5 separate regions of the Homo sapiens genome follow, and all the other regions are linked to region 5. The links are contacts of gene promoters, found by promoter capture Hi-C in blood cells and fetal thymus (Javierre and others, 2016). All regions are on one chromosome and are shown on one strand. The core of a region is centred on a gene start or on the middle of the fragment in contact, and the rest is flanking DNA. Distances in the headings are between cores, read along the strand shown. Region 1 has its middle 51 kb from the start of TMEM132E-DT. Region 2 has its middle 36 kb from the start of CCL1. Region 3 overlaps AP2B1 (adaptor related protein complex 2 subunit beta 1). Region 4 has its middle 87 kb from the start of CCL1. Region 5 holds the start of NLE1 (notchless homolog 1).

Region 1 (2,712 bases), core at 203-2,702, 610 kb before region 5:
CAGCCTTCAAACAAGGCTCAGAGACACAGGGCTGGAGCCTGTCGCCTGGCTCTGAGCTGCGTGTTAGATTCCTGAGCATAGCCCCCAGCTCCACGTGGGGTGGCTGACATTCCTTGGGTTTCTCTCCACCCTCCCTGCTGCCCACAGCCGGGAGGTCCCTGAGCTCTGCCTGTTCTCATCCCGGTCCACTGCCCCTTCTGGGGACCTTGGCATCTCCTGGCTGTACACTGGCCATCCTGCCCGCATGACTGGCCCCCACACCAGCTTCCTGTACTTATACATTGGTTACTTGGTTCATTCAACTCCTACTGCGTGCCAGGACCTACTATGTGCTAGCACCACTGCTAATCCCTGCCTACTGGAGTGAAAAACATAGTTCCTGCTTTCTAGGAGCTTACAGGGTAGTGGAGGCGGGATGGTGGGTTTCGGGGGGGTTGGGAGGGGGACCATGAGACTCCACGAACTTGGGAATGAACCCTTTCAGGGAGGGGTGGTGAAGCTTAGGGTGAGGTAGGTCCGGTGCTGTAGGAGGAAAAGGGCGGCGCAGCTGCTGCCACAGAACGGGTCCCAGCACAGGGGAGGCATGAGTTCAGCCTTAAAGGACGAATAGGAGTCAGCCACCTGGGCTTTGCCCCTCCCTGTTTTCCATCTGTCAAAATTCTAACTAAAAGGCCCAACTTAAAAACCCTTTCCCCACCACACATGCTTCCACTCTTATGAGTACTCAGTAAATGTTGCAGGCAAGGTCCTTCCCTAGGCCCCTGCTGACTGTGCAGGGTCCGCTTAGGGCCTCCCTTCCCCGGGTGGTAAGAACAGCGCCCCCTAAAGTTCTGCAGTGCACAACCTGCACAGCTACACAGGATGGCCCTTAGGCTATCGGTGATTTTCTTCCTCAGCATCAGCCCTGCCTGCTTTCACACAGCAGAATATCAAATCCGTCCTCACCTTGCTCGACTCTGCTGCCCATCCACCACTCTGTCCATTTCCACCTGCCTCACAGGCCCCTCTCCTTCCTTGAAACCTTACCTCTGCTTTCAATGGCTTCTGCTGACGTGGCAAACCACGTTTAAAGTGACCACGGCCATAGTCCTGTCCCATCTGTGTTCTCAGAATCCTCCTCTGAGCATCGTTTTAAGAAATATATCGATTCATGGAATTAGGGAGTGTCAGCATGTGTGCATGGACTACAAATGGAAAAGGGAAGTCACGTCATTGACCATATACTGTGTGCAAGCCACCGTGCTAGCTGCTTCACATATCTAGATAGAGGCTATTTTAAGTGAAAAGAAGAAAATTATCTCAGCCTTTTAGGATGGAATGGAAGGGAGCCAAAGCTGGAGGCATTTGCTGAATGCACACATTGAATACATATATGACAAAGCGCTTCAAGTTCCATTTTCTCCCTTCCTGAAACTCCTTCTGTACATATAATGCCCTTTGGTCTATCATGATAGTGTAGATGAGTGTGAACTGAAACAGACAAATGAGGGCTTGAGACTGTCTTCCTAAGAGTGGGAATTGAGCCCATCATTTCAGCTCTCTAGGCCTCAACTTCTTCATCGATGCTGTAAAGGTAACACTAGAAGCACCTCGCAGGCTCACCAGGATTTACTGGGCAACCCCACACCAAGTGTTTAACATGCTGCCGGTCACATATTAAGCAATACACATGAGCTACTCTTACTGTTGCCGTCATTGTTGAGATGCCAGCTTCTTTCCTTGTTGGAGTCTCCATGCCTGCTCAGTGTACATTTGAGTGATGAGGATGAGGATGGCAGGAGCTGCACCAGCCCCATTCCCATGCCCATCTCCATGGGTCCAAGCAATCCAGCAAGTGGGAGTCAGGGGGCAGCCCTGAGAGAGGTATCCTGGAAAGCACTAGTTGGGGCACTGGTTCTGCCAAGTCCACTTTTCTGGGAGCCACTGTCACCACACGAGGGTGCGAGAAATAAACCAGGAGTATGCATACAGCTCCCCAAAGGGTGCTGAGAGGCCGAGAAGGTTGATGTTTTCCAAGTGATTTGAGATTGTCAAGTAAAATCCCCTATGTAAATATGATTCCCTAATGGATTCATGGCAGCAAGGGAGATGTCGTTCAACTGACTATTTAACAAAGCTGTTTAAAGAGAGAGAGATGGTGGAGATCATGTTTTATGTATTAGATGTGAAAAAATTCTCTTTAAAATTTGTCTCAGTCATCTGAACGCTGGAGTTCCGATAAAGACCCAAGTTTTATGATAGATGTTTTACAAGGATGCACACCTTCTCTGGCCTTCTCTGGCATCACCCCACCCTCCACTTCCTTCCCTGATCAAATCCTCAAGAGATACATTTAATCCTCCCCCATTCCCAAAATGTTCTAAGGCAAATATGCAATATCATTTTTCAAGTGTGCATTAATAATGCAAGCTTTACACCAAGTTTTCAAACTGGATTGGCATCCTGGGCCGATGTAGAAATGTCTGGGTCAAATATACTTTAAAGAAAAATTTCTTTAATTAGTTTCTTTTGAACGTTACACAAAGGCCTTGCCTGATAGCGAGGCAATTTATTGCCATCTTGACATTGCCTCCGTGTTTATCAGTTAAATGATTCTATTGCATTGAAAATAGGACATCTTAGCTCTGAAGGACCTTGCAGACTTGTGTACTTACTATCCTTCTCCTTGTCTGCTTTTGAGAAGGCTCTGGGCATTGTTCTCTCTGGTTTGAA
Region 2 (2,700 bases), core at 165-2,664, 740 kb before region 5:
CCCTGACTTCTTAAGGGCTCTTAGTTTGGGCTTCCATGTACCCCCTTGGTACCCACATTCATATCTGTAAACTAAACATAAAAATACCTGGTGTCTTAGCTAAGATACTTTGGGTTATGAGTAACAGAAACAGAAGCCGATTCAAGTTTTCACTTAGCACAGTGTTTAGCAAATAGTCGATGCACCATAAATAAGTGGTGAATGAATGAATGAGTGTCTTAAGAAAGTAGGAAAGGTATCAGAAGAATCCTGGGGCGTCATGTGGTATCTAAAAGAAACCTGGAAATCAAAGCTTCAGAAAGATCAGAAATCATAGGCAGCTCTGGTGATCTCAGCAGGAGTTTGTGACCAACGAGTACAGAGACCAGGATCACCAGTTCCTCCTGCCACACCTCTGCCCCAGCCCTGGCAATGCCGGAGAAGTAGCCTGGTGTTCACGTTTGTGCATATGACTGAGTGTCTTTGACAGGTTGAGTCCCCATAGAATGTGTTACATGAGATGCTAAAGAGATGGAAAATAGAGGTTGCTTTTCAGGTTCCATTTCCAGTCAAGATTCATAACAAGCACGGATGCTTAACCTGCCCCCCAAGATCAACTCCAGAGGAACACAAAGGAAGGGAAAACTGAAAACCAGGAGGAACCATGGGGGTGTGGTCCTATTTTGAATTGGACGGTAGGGCGGAAGGTGATGGTGTGGCCTGGGCAGGACGTATCCCAGCACAGCAGCAGAAGTGTAAAAGAGAGGGGGAAATATTAGGAATTCTGTTCTTTCTTCTCCCCAGTCACAGCCTTGGGAAAAACCTGTGGAGACTAAATCTTATGCCCTCATTATTGTCAGGAGTAAAATCAGAGCTGTACAGAAGTCCTGTGCTAAAGGGAGGCTGAGCAAAGCAGGCAGAGTGACTGACTTGGGCCGTTACTTCCTCTCCCGTCCTATCTGAACTTCTGGGGCTGTAAAATTACTGTCTAAAGAGTGGATCCTCTCTATGGGTGGCAAAGGGTTAAGATTGAGCTGAGAGGTGTCTTGGTAAGTGTTTTCTCATGCCAGGGGTTCCGCACCTTAAGGCTCACCTCTCCCTACTTCCTGAGTTCACTGGAATTGAAGTAGATAGAATCTGGCATCTCACCACCAACACTGCCAAAAGGAGTAACCAATACTCTCAGGGAAAAATGAGCTCACAAGTCAAAACAACAGGACAATTGAGGAGCACAAACATTTCAATAGAAAATAGTTATGTTTCTGGGCCCAGAGGCCAGGCTGGGTTGGGGACCAGGATCCCAACCCTGTGACAATGGGAGAAAAGGGGACTGGAACTGTTCCTGAGCAAATACCTCATGGCAAGTACCATGTGGGCTTCTCTGTACACCATCTTGCTTAATCTCACCTCTGTCCTTTGAGATAGGACTTGTCACTACCACGTCACAAGTCAGAAGCTGAGGCTCGGAGCAGTCACATGGCTTCTTAAAGGAGACCCAATTTACAAATAGCATGACAGATTTTAACCTAGACCTAAGCTCTGGAGTCAGACCATCTAGATTTAAGTCACTTCCTAACTGCATGAACTTGACCAAATCATTTAACTTCTCTGACCTCAACTTCCTCTTCTGCAAAACAGGGCTAAAAATTGTACCTAACTCATTGGATTGTTGTGAGGATGCAATGAATTTAGAATAGCTCCTGATAGTTATGTGGTACTCAGTAAACATTGGTTGTTATTTTAATTATTTCCAGCTGTGTACCTGTGCCTTTAACATTCAGCCTTTCTGGTAAAATGTAATAAATCTCCTCTCTTCTTGTTTAAGTAGCAACCAATTGGAATTGTTACACATTTGCTTCTTAAATAGAGTCCACCTACATGGTCTAGAAAGGAAGAAACAGGGTGAGTTCTGAGATCAAATCCTAATTTTTAACAGAGAGCTCAAAATGAGAGAGTATGTCCTGCTTTGGAAAAGAGATTTCTCTAAGCACCCAGAAAGGACACAGGTATTACCAGAGAAAGGATTCTGTTCCAAGATCTAAACTTATCCAGAAGGAATCAAAAGCAAAGGCTAAAATATTAAACATTAGGGAATGCTTCCTTAACTAATTAAACACCAATGCAACGGAATATTATGAAACTCTCAAAACTTATCTGTACACATAAGGCATTAAACACACTCACACACATACTTGTGAAACAGTTAAATGCAAAAAACACAGCACAAAACAGTGGGTAGACTATGATTCAGTTCTGGAAAAATACAGCTATCTGTGTAGACACAGAGAGAAAATTACAAGGGAAGTGTGCTAACATGCAGGGAATGGGGGTAACTTTTTTGAGACTTTCCTTGAAGTTATAGTCCTTTCAAAAGAAATGCAAAATATTGAGGAATAGAACTATGTTGTACATTTATGTTTTAAAAAACTCACACCAATGCAAATCTAATTTATTTTTCTTTTGCAGGAAGTTAATCTGAAACATATATGGTCTTATATTGATGTATTCTAACTATATAAAAATACACAAAGTCACCTACACACAAATCCACACCCATAGAAGCTTGCAGAAGGACAAGCGATTCATAAGCATCACTGGAATGGGAAGCTGTTTCCAATCAAAGACCCAGAAAGGATTGATGGGAGAGAGGACCTACGATGTGCCTAGAACTTTACAGCAAGTTTCCTATAGGAATTTCCATATTAACCCTTCAAAGTACTT
Region 3 (2,700 bases), core at 13-2,512, 530 kb after region 5:
TTCAGAGAGTAGGATAATCTCCATTAGAATATTTTTCAGTTAAGAGGGAAGTTGCTGAATAGTCCGCATAAGCTGTAGTCTTGCTAGTTAGAAAACATGTATAGTATTGAAATTGTCCTTTCCCTTTGCTCTCTGAACATAGTACAATTAGGTGAACCTTTGTATCCCTGGCTGTGTCTCTGATATCTTTTGGACCCTGTCTTTGTGTCAGATCAGAGTTCATGTTTCTAGCTGAGTTGTATCTGATATACTGAACATAAACAGAGGAATGTCAAGATTGCTTTTCAGTTCTTCATGATTTTGAATAAAATTGACAAGCACTGGGGGACAGTACTTTCAGATCCTTTCCAGCTAAGATAATATTCATATATCATTCAACGATAAAAAGAATGAAATCTAAGAAAATAAGGGCTATGAATGTGCTTTCTTTCCTTTGGTCTAAACACTACCCATGAATCTCTTTTCTCAATGCCTTTTATTGAATTTAGCAAAACTGCTGTTTCCTTTCCAATGTGTTTTTCTTTCTTGCTGTTCTGTGCCAAGCAGGTTCATAAAGAATTCTATCTCTTTGAATCTTGGATTATAAGCCTAGCCAGAAGAGGGGAGAATAAGTTGCGGTGAGAGGGGGTAAGCCCATCAGAAAGTCGAAAACCACCTCAGAGTATCAGGACAAATGAAACATTTTTCGTAGGATCCTTTCCATGGGTTTTCCTCGCTGCTCAAATTTTTTTTTTTTTTTTTTTTTTGAGACGGAGTCTTGGTCTGTTGCCCAGGCTGTAGTGCAATGGCATGATCTCGGCTCACTGCAACCTCTGCCTCCCAGGTTTAAGCAATTCTCCTGTATCAGCCTTCTGAGTAGCTGGGACTACAGGTTCCCGTCACCAGGCCCAGCTAATTTTTGTATTTTTAGTAGAGACGGGTTTCACCATATTGGTCAGGCTGGTCTTGAACTCCTGACCTCAGGTGATCAACCGGCCTCGGCTTCCCAAAGTGCTGGGATTACAGGTGTGAGCCACCACGCCCGGCCTCTCTGCTCAAATCCTGACTTCCTTTTTATTCACAAGTTCCAAAGTCATTTCTGAGCAGATGAAGTCTTGTCTGACTCTAAATAACTGATTCTCTAACGGCAGTGTTTTCAACCTTGGCTGTACATTAGAATCAACTGGGGAAGCTTTTCAAAATTCTGATGCCCAGGCTACACCCCAGAACAATTAAATTACCATCTCTGGGGGCGAGTACTTTTTAAAGCGCTACTCTCTGCAACCCCCACACACAGATGGTTGATTCCATTGTGTATCCAAGGTTGAAACCATACTACTGAAACATAATTGACATAGTTATTAGTATTCTTAGAAAGCTTAGTCTAAGAAACCTCCAGGTTTTTATGAAGGGGAAATTAAAAAATTAAAAGACAGCCTTTGCAAACTTATTTTGTATGAGTATTTTTTTAAAACACATATCAACCCTGTGTTCCAGTCTAACTGGCCTTTTCATTCTTCCATGCTTTCTTCACCTTTGTTCATGCTATTTGAGAAATGGCCTTCCCCCATTTTTGCTTTTTATAATTCCACCCTACCACCTTTTTGAAGTTTCTCTTCATTCTTTCAGCCAGAGGGAGGTTCTTCCCTTCAGAACTTCGCTTTTTTGCTTTAGTATATTCTGTATGGTTTTGCATTTGTGTTTTATTTCTCCAGCTAGTTTGCAAAGCTTCATTCTTATCTATGTAGTCCCCTCATTGCCAGGCATCTTTATATCCCTTGTAATGCCTTGCATCCAGTAAATGTTATGTAAATGTTTGTTTGAATAAAAGGAATTTCAGACGTCATGCTGCAGATGTGTGCTATGATAGAACTAGGGAGAAAGCAGATGTGTAGTATCTTTTCTATTCCCTTCACACTTTTCTAGTTACTCAAATTCTTGGTTTGGGGATGCCTTTTTTTTTTTTTTTTCCGAGATGGAGTCTTGCTCTTGTTGCCGAGGATGAAGTGCAATGGCATGATCTCAGCTCACCGCAACCTCCGTCTCTTGGGTTCAAGGGATGCTCCTGCCTCAGTCTCCCGAGTAGCTGGGATTACAGGCGCCTGCCACCACAGCCTGCTAATTTTTGTATTTTTAGTAGAGACAGGATTTCACCATGTTGGCCAGGGTGGTCTCAAACTCCTGACCTCATGATCCGCTCACCTTGGCCTCCCAAAGTGCTGGGATTACAGGCATGAGCCACCACGCCCAGCCAAGGATGATCTTTTTATTTATTTAAGTATGTGATTTTCATCCCCTGTGCAACCATTAAGTAGTCTTCAGGAATCAGATTCTGGAAATGTTAGCTCTGGTTTGGAATGCTTATAGTTTACAACAGAGCATGCTTGCTAATGCCAGTTATGAAGCACCTACCAGGGTTATTTTCTTTCATGGTTTAAACAGAACTTTGTTGTAGTCGTCACTATTTTTCAATATTTAAGATTAATTTTTAGATTTTTGAGAATGCCATTTTATGTACTACTCTCTGTTCATTGAGAAGATAAATCCTCTTTCCCCAATCTTAAAGATGCAAAATAATTTTTACAGCTCAACGACCTGCAACTTTCTACCACTAAATGACTATAAAGGAGAATGTGCTTAGAACAGACAAGGCATTTGATGATTCAAGGAAGTGTTTTAGATGCACAGTAAGAACTAGGGAAGAAACAACTGTGGAACTGT
Region 4 (2,833 bases), core at 23-2,522, 690 kb before region 5:
AAGGCAACATGTTTGAGGCTGGAAGAGGCAGTCAGGGGCCAGATTGCAGAGGGCAGGTTTGCCCAATTAGGGAGTTTGCACAGACCCCAGAGGCAATGGGGTACATGGAGAGGAGTTAAGCAAAGAAATGCCATGATCAGATGTCTGCTGGTTGCTTAGGGGACTTACGTTGTTCATCTGGGTAGCAAAAGGCTCCAGCAAGTTGGGGTCAGGACCTCTTCCACTACCCCCATGCATCTGGAGAGGGCAGAAGCTTTCCCCAGGGCTGCTGGGCGCTACTAGTTTAATCTGAGTTTCATGGTGCATTAGCAATGAGCTCTCAGGATCAGCCAAGTCCCTGGTACTAATCAGCCGCTGAGGCAGGATCGATGGCAACTACATTGATCTTGCTTTTTAGCTTTGGCTCCTTATAGAGCTTATTGACTGGACAATCTAAGAGGGCGGGGGATGTGCACCCAAGTCTCACCGAACTGTGGTAGAAAAGCGAGGAGAAGGGTCCCTCACAGGTCCTGCACCTCACTCTAGTCTCACACTCATCCTGAATGTGGCCCCCACTGCCAAATCCTACACCCTACACAAAATCATGGTGTTCAAGGCTTCAGCCTCAGCTGTTGCCACTCACTCTCCGTGTTCAGGTTTGAACCCACAGAAATGCCTTTCCAGCTCCTCTGCCTCTAGATACGTTCTTCTCTCTAACAAGGATGTGACTGACTCCTACCTCAATTTACCCAGTCTGATCTCTTCCTTCCTCCAGATCCAGCTCAAATATCGCCTCCTCTAGGAAGCCTTCTGTGGCCTAACCTCACCCCCAAAGCACCAATAAAGTCTTCTGTATGTCCACAGCATTTGATATGTAACTGTATGTATGACACTGATACACTTTTACAACTAATTACTGTGTCTGTCTCCCCAGAATGTAAGTTATTTAAGGACCTAGCATACAGCAGATGCTCAATGAAGGGTTCTGGAGTGAATGAGTGAACAAATGAATGAAGAAATGCTTTAAAATATCATACAGATTTCAGATTTATTTCTTTAATCCTGACCCCGCACAGCCCTCTAAGGGTACAGAATAGCAGAGACTCTGCCTAATCTAATATGGATGGCACTGGTTCAGATTTATACCTGAAATATTAGAACTGGGAGGAAACTTATGCCTTATTGTTATTGAGTTCAATCCCTAATTTTATAGTTGGGGCCACAGGTCCAGGGACAATAACTGACTCACTCAAATCTCACAAAAGCAGATGGCAGGCTGAGAACCCTCCAGGTGCTACTTTATGTGGACATGACCATGAAAGTGGGGGATAGCAAAGCCCACTGAACACCTCCAGGTATTCCCACCCATCACTCTGACTTCCTGTAACAGTCTTTGTCTCTTGAGGTGCATCTGGCTGAACAGGTACCTATTAGCTGGGCCACAGGATGGAGGCTCCCAGAAGACAAAAGTTCTTTCTTACAGTGACTCACTATATGAAAAAAGGGCTTTATTTCATATCTACAAGCCTCAGTTTCCCAATCATTAAAATGGGGGAAAAGATTATCTGCCTTTTCTCTTCTGGTCTTAGGAGAGGCTACTCCTTGAGCAAAGCCTGCCATTCTTTAAAAAATATCTTCACAGGTCATGCCATCTGGTATCGATGAGAGAAGGCAAGAGAACATGGGGTCTAGGAAGTCAAGCTGAGAACATAGCCTGTTTTTGTTTGTTGGTTTACTTTTTATTGAAATACAACATACAGAAAAATGAACTTATCATAAGTGCACAGCCCATACATTTTTCAAAAACTGAACCAATGTGTACATAATATGTAGATCAAGAAATAGAGCCTTCCCGAAGCTGCCCTTGGACTCCCTTCCCATCACTACTGCCTAAATCCACCATACTGATCTCAAGCACCATAGATTAGCTCTGTCTCTTTTTGCACTTCATAGAAACAAAATCTTATAACTGCTCCTCCTTTGTGTATACCTCCTTTTGTACAACATCATGCTTCCATAAGGTTGTGTGTCATTGTAGAGTGGCCATTCTAATTGCTAGATATTATTCTATTGTATAATTATATTATGATTTGCTTATCCATTCTACTATTGATGGACATTTGGGTAGTTTCCAGTTTGGTGCTATTACAGATAGTGTTAAAATAGTCTGTTTTTAATATTTTAAACAATCACTTAAAAAGACAGATACTTTAAAATATCCAGGAAGAAAATAATTGTATATTCATGCTTCCATTTAATAAATATTTGTCAAGCACCAACTGTGTCCTGGAATGGTCTTCTCCCTTCCTCTCCTAAGCTTAGCCTTTACAGAACAGGTGACATCCCACCTCTTCTACAAAGCATTTTTGCTTGCCCCCAACCTATAGTGACATTCTCCCAACCCTTAAGCCTCAAGGTAGGTCTTGCCAAGAACACACAGTAGACCATGAGCCCACCCTGCTAGCCTTGTTCCTGCTCCTTCTCTGCTTATTTTCAGGTGGGCACTTCTGAAAAGCAGGTATCATCTTTCTCTGCCTTCCACAATACCATGCACAACACTGGGCACATTATCAAACTCACAGAATATACATTCAATTTAACTAGATCTCAGCCATAAGAAGGTGATGTAAATGCATGAAGACCCCCACTCTCTGTCTCTACCCCAAGGATAATATTTTTGCAAAACATGGAAAAGATCTATGCCAAACATGGGCAAAACCCACGGACAGCGATGGATGGAGAAATGCATTGCAGTAGCCTTGATAGCCAAAATGAATTGGTTCCAGAGCCTGAGCTCTATGTTGTGGTTTATAATCACTTCTCTCTCCACTCCTTGGTGCAAATAATCAGTAGA
Region 5 (2,795 bases), core at 68-2,567:
AATTAGTTCAATGTCCTATTGCCAATGATTAATTCAGGTTCTTTACGTCCAAGATAGGATTAGCATATAGCATTATGCAGTGTTTCCCAAACTACCACACTACACTATATTTGTGTAAAAAGCTCCCAAAACGCCTGTTAAAAAATGTAGACTTTCTGCTTCATCCCAGAGTTTGGTTTAGTAAGGCTGGGATGGGGTCCAGGAACTGCAATTTTAAGGACCTCCCCTGTCCCCAGGGCAGCTCTTCAGTAAACACACTGGCTTAAAGGTTAAAAGCAAAGGCCGGGTGCGGTGGCTCACGCCAGTAATCCCCAGCACTTTGGAGGCCAAGGCGGGAGGATCACGAGGTCAAGAGATCGAGACCATCCTGGCCAACGTGGTGAAACCCAGTCCCCACTAAAAATACAAAAATTAGCTGGGTGTGGTGGCGCGCGCCTGTAGTCCCAGCTACTCGGGAGGCTGAGGCAGGAGAATCGCTTGAACCTGGGAGGCAGAGATTGCAGTGAGCAGAGATCACGCCACTACACTCCAGCTTGCCAGCCTGGCGACAAAGTGAGACTCCGTCTCAAAAAAAAAAAAAAAAAAGGTAAATAAATAAATAAATAAAAGCATGGGTATTCGGATAGTTTTGGGTTCCAATTCCAAATCTGCTACCTACTACATAGCATCGTGCAAAATACTGAGTCCCTCCGGGCCACGCTGTAAAATGGGGATATTAACGTGTCCCAGACTGGGGGACTGTGACAAAGAATCAATGAAATACAGCATCCGGTGCGTTCAAAGCTAGGCCCCTCTCCGCAGGTGGACCCCTTTGGTTGGCGTGTAAAGCGCTATGCCACTGATTCCATCTCTGACATAGGTGGGAGCTCACGCCAGGTGGGTCACCACAGTCCGTTAGCGGGGGACCATGAACCGCAGACCCTCGGTAATATGATTCCCCCACCGCATCCGCCCGGGGGTGGAGATGCGAGGCCGCCCTGGCCAGCCACTTACCTGGGCCAGTAGCGCGTTGCACACGAGCTGCAGCCTGTCCGGGGTGATGTCCACGGGCACGTCGAACGGGGAACCCAGCAGCTGCCCGCCCTCATCCTGGAACTGCACTAGCAACCGCTGCACATCGCGCGCCACCGCCTCGTCCTGCGCGAGCAAGTGGGGCGGGAGTCAGTCTGGTCGCCCGCCCAGAAGGGCCCCACTTCGCCTCTCTCAGGCCTCAGGGACCCGGGCCCTAGCGCCCCGCGGCGACGCCCCCCGCCCCCATCCACGCACACCCACCGGCACTGCTGCCGCCATCCTGCGTCCCCACGTGGAGGAGAAAGAGCCCGGCAGACAGAGCGCCGTCTCCGTGGTCGGGCGGGGTCGCCGCCGGCCACATCGCCCTCTGCTGTTGGGGAGGAGAAGCGTCCCGCTGCGCACGGCCTCAGGGATTAGAAATGGGCTTACCTGGTGCTCCTCCCGCCCCTCAACAGCCTTCACATTTATTTTTCGCCAGGGTCTTAGAGGACACAGTAAACTTTTGACTCTTCACAACAGGGATTCTTGCCCCATTTTAATTTAATTTCATTTTGAGACAGAGTTTCACTCCGTCGCCCAGACTGGAGGGCAGTGGTGCCACCACGGCTCACTGCAGTCTCGAACTTTCTGGCACAGCGATCCTCCCACCTCAGCCTCAGAGTAGCCTGGACTACAGGCACATGACACCCTGCCCGGTTATTTTTTTCTCATTTTTTGTAGAGACGAGGTCTCACTATGTTGCCCAGGCTGGTCTCAAACTCCTGAACTCAAGCAGCAAGTCCCCCACTCCCCAGCCTCAGTGTCCCAAAGTGCTGGGATTACAGGTGTGAGCCACCACGCCTAGCCTAGAAATTAGTATCCTTTTAAAAATGGATCAAGTCAAGGCTGGGCGTGGTGGCTGACACCTGTAATCCCAGCGCTTTGGAAGGCCCAGGCGAGCAGATCACTTGAGTCCAGGAGTTCGAGACCAGCCTGGCCAACATGGTGAAACCAGGTCTCTACTAAAAATACAAAAAAATTAACCAGCCGTGGTGGCATGCGCCTGTGGTCATAGCTACTGGAGAGGCTGAGGTGGTAGATTCTCTTGAACCTGGGAGGCAGAGGTTGCAGTGAGCCGAGCTCTCACCACTGCACTCCAGCCTGGATGACAGAGCAAGACTCTGTCTCAATAAATAAATAAATAAATAAATAAATAAATAAATAAATAAATAAATAAAATGGATCAACTCAATAATACTCGAGTACAAAAGCAAATCATTTCTACAATCATCAATGCTGTAAAGCAATAATAGTGATAATGACATCAACAAGTCAGGAATTGTTCTAAGTGCTTTCCCACATAACTCATTTAATTCTTACAACCCTTTTCTCCCCATATTACTGAGGAACTGAAGCAGACAGCAATGAACTTGAGCTCTTTTGCCTGAAACGAAGGATCTCCCTTGCCAACTCTCCTCTCTCTCCCTCCACTGCTCAGGCAGTCTCAAGCTCTGCCAAGTCATCCTCATGAACACAGCTTGAATCTGCTCTCCCCATCTCCACTGCCTCACTCTGGTCAGAGTCACCATCATCACCTGCCTGGACCGCTACAACAGCCTCCCGATGAGCCCCCCCATTTCCATTCCTGCCTCTTTCTACCCATTCTCCACGATGCAGCCAGGGTTATCTTTTCAGACCAAAAATCTGGCCTGCTGCTCTTCACCCTCAAACCCTGCGACGGCTCCCTTACATGCAGGAAAAAAAGAACACTCCTTATAATGGTCAATTCAGCCTTGCTATGTCCA

The links. The method cuts DNA at HindIII sites, captures the fragments that hold promoters and counts their contacts. A CHiCAGO score of 5 or more calls a contact.
Region 1: a contact is called between a fragment that was not itself captured here and the fragment with the promoter of NLE1 in region 5, in 1 of 17 cell types (neutrophils). The highest score is 6.5, in neutrophils.
Region 2: a fragment that was not itself captured here is called in contact with the fragment with the promoter of NLE1 in region 5 in 1 of 17 cell types (total B cells); the score reaches 5.2 in total B cells.
Region 3: a fragment that was not itself captured here is called in contact with the fragment with the promoter of NLE1 in region 5 in 3 of 17 cell types (naive CD4 T cells, activated CD4 T cells and total CD8 T cells); the score reaches 5.6 in naive CD4 T cells.
Region 4: a fragment that was not itself captured here is called in contact with the fragment with the promoter of NLE1 in region 5 in 1 of 17 cell types (M2 macrophages); the score reaches 5.9 in M2 macrophages.

The regions. Positions count from the first base shown.
Region 1 is chr17:34,527,229-34,529,940 of GRCh38, forward strand. No RefSeq gene overlaps it. Among named protein-coding and RNA genes, the nearest start is that of TMEM132E-DT, 51 kb to the right of the region's middle. The HindIII fragment of the contact is 1,910 bases long and covers 498-2,407 here.
Region 2 is chr17:34,397,719-34,400,418 of GRCh38, forward strand. No RefSeq gene overlaps it. Among named protein-coding and RNA genes, the nearest start is that of CCL1, 36 kb to the left of the region's middle. The HindIII fragment of the contact is 2,249 bases long and covers 291-2,539 here.
Region 3 is chr17:35,667,210-35,669,909 of GRCh38, forward strand. The region is part of intron 14 of AP2B1 (adaptor related protein complex 2 subunit beta 1); the gene reads left to right. Among named protein-coding and RNA genes, the nearest start is that of RASL10B, 63 kb to the right of the region's middle. The HindIII fragment of the contact is 186 bases long and covers 1,170-1,355 here.
Region 4 is chr17:34,448,647-34,451,479 of GRCh38, forward strand. No RefSeq gene overlaps it. Among named protein-coding and RNA genes, the nearest start is that of CCL1, 87 kb to the left of the region's middle. The HindIII fragment of the contact is 2,043 bases long and covers 252-2,294 here.
Region 5 is chr17:35,140,986-35,143,780 of GRCh38, forward strand. NLE1 (notchless homolog 1) reads right to left here and starts at 1,318. Exons shown (of 13, transcript NM_018096.5): 1 at 1,273-1,318; 2 at 994-1,137. The coding sequence starts at 1,290. RefSeq lists an enhancer at 749-1,626. The HindIII fragment of the contact is 3,765 bases long and covers 1-2,795 here.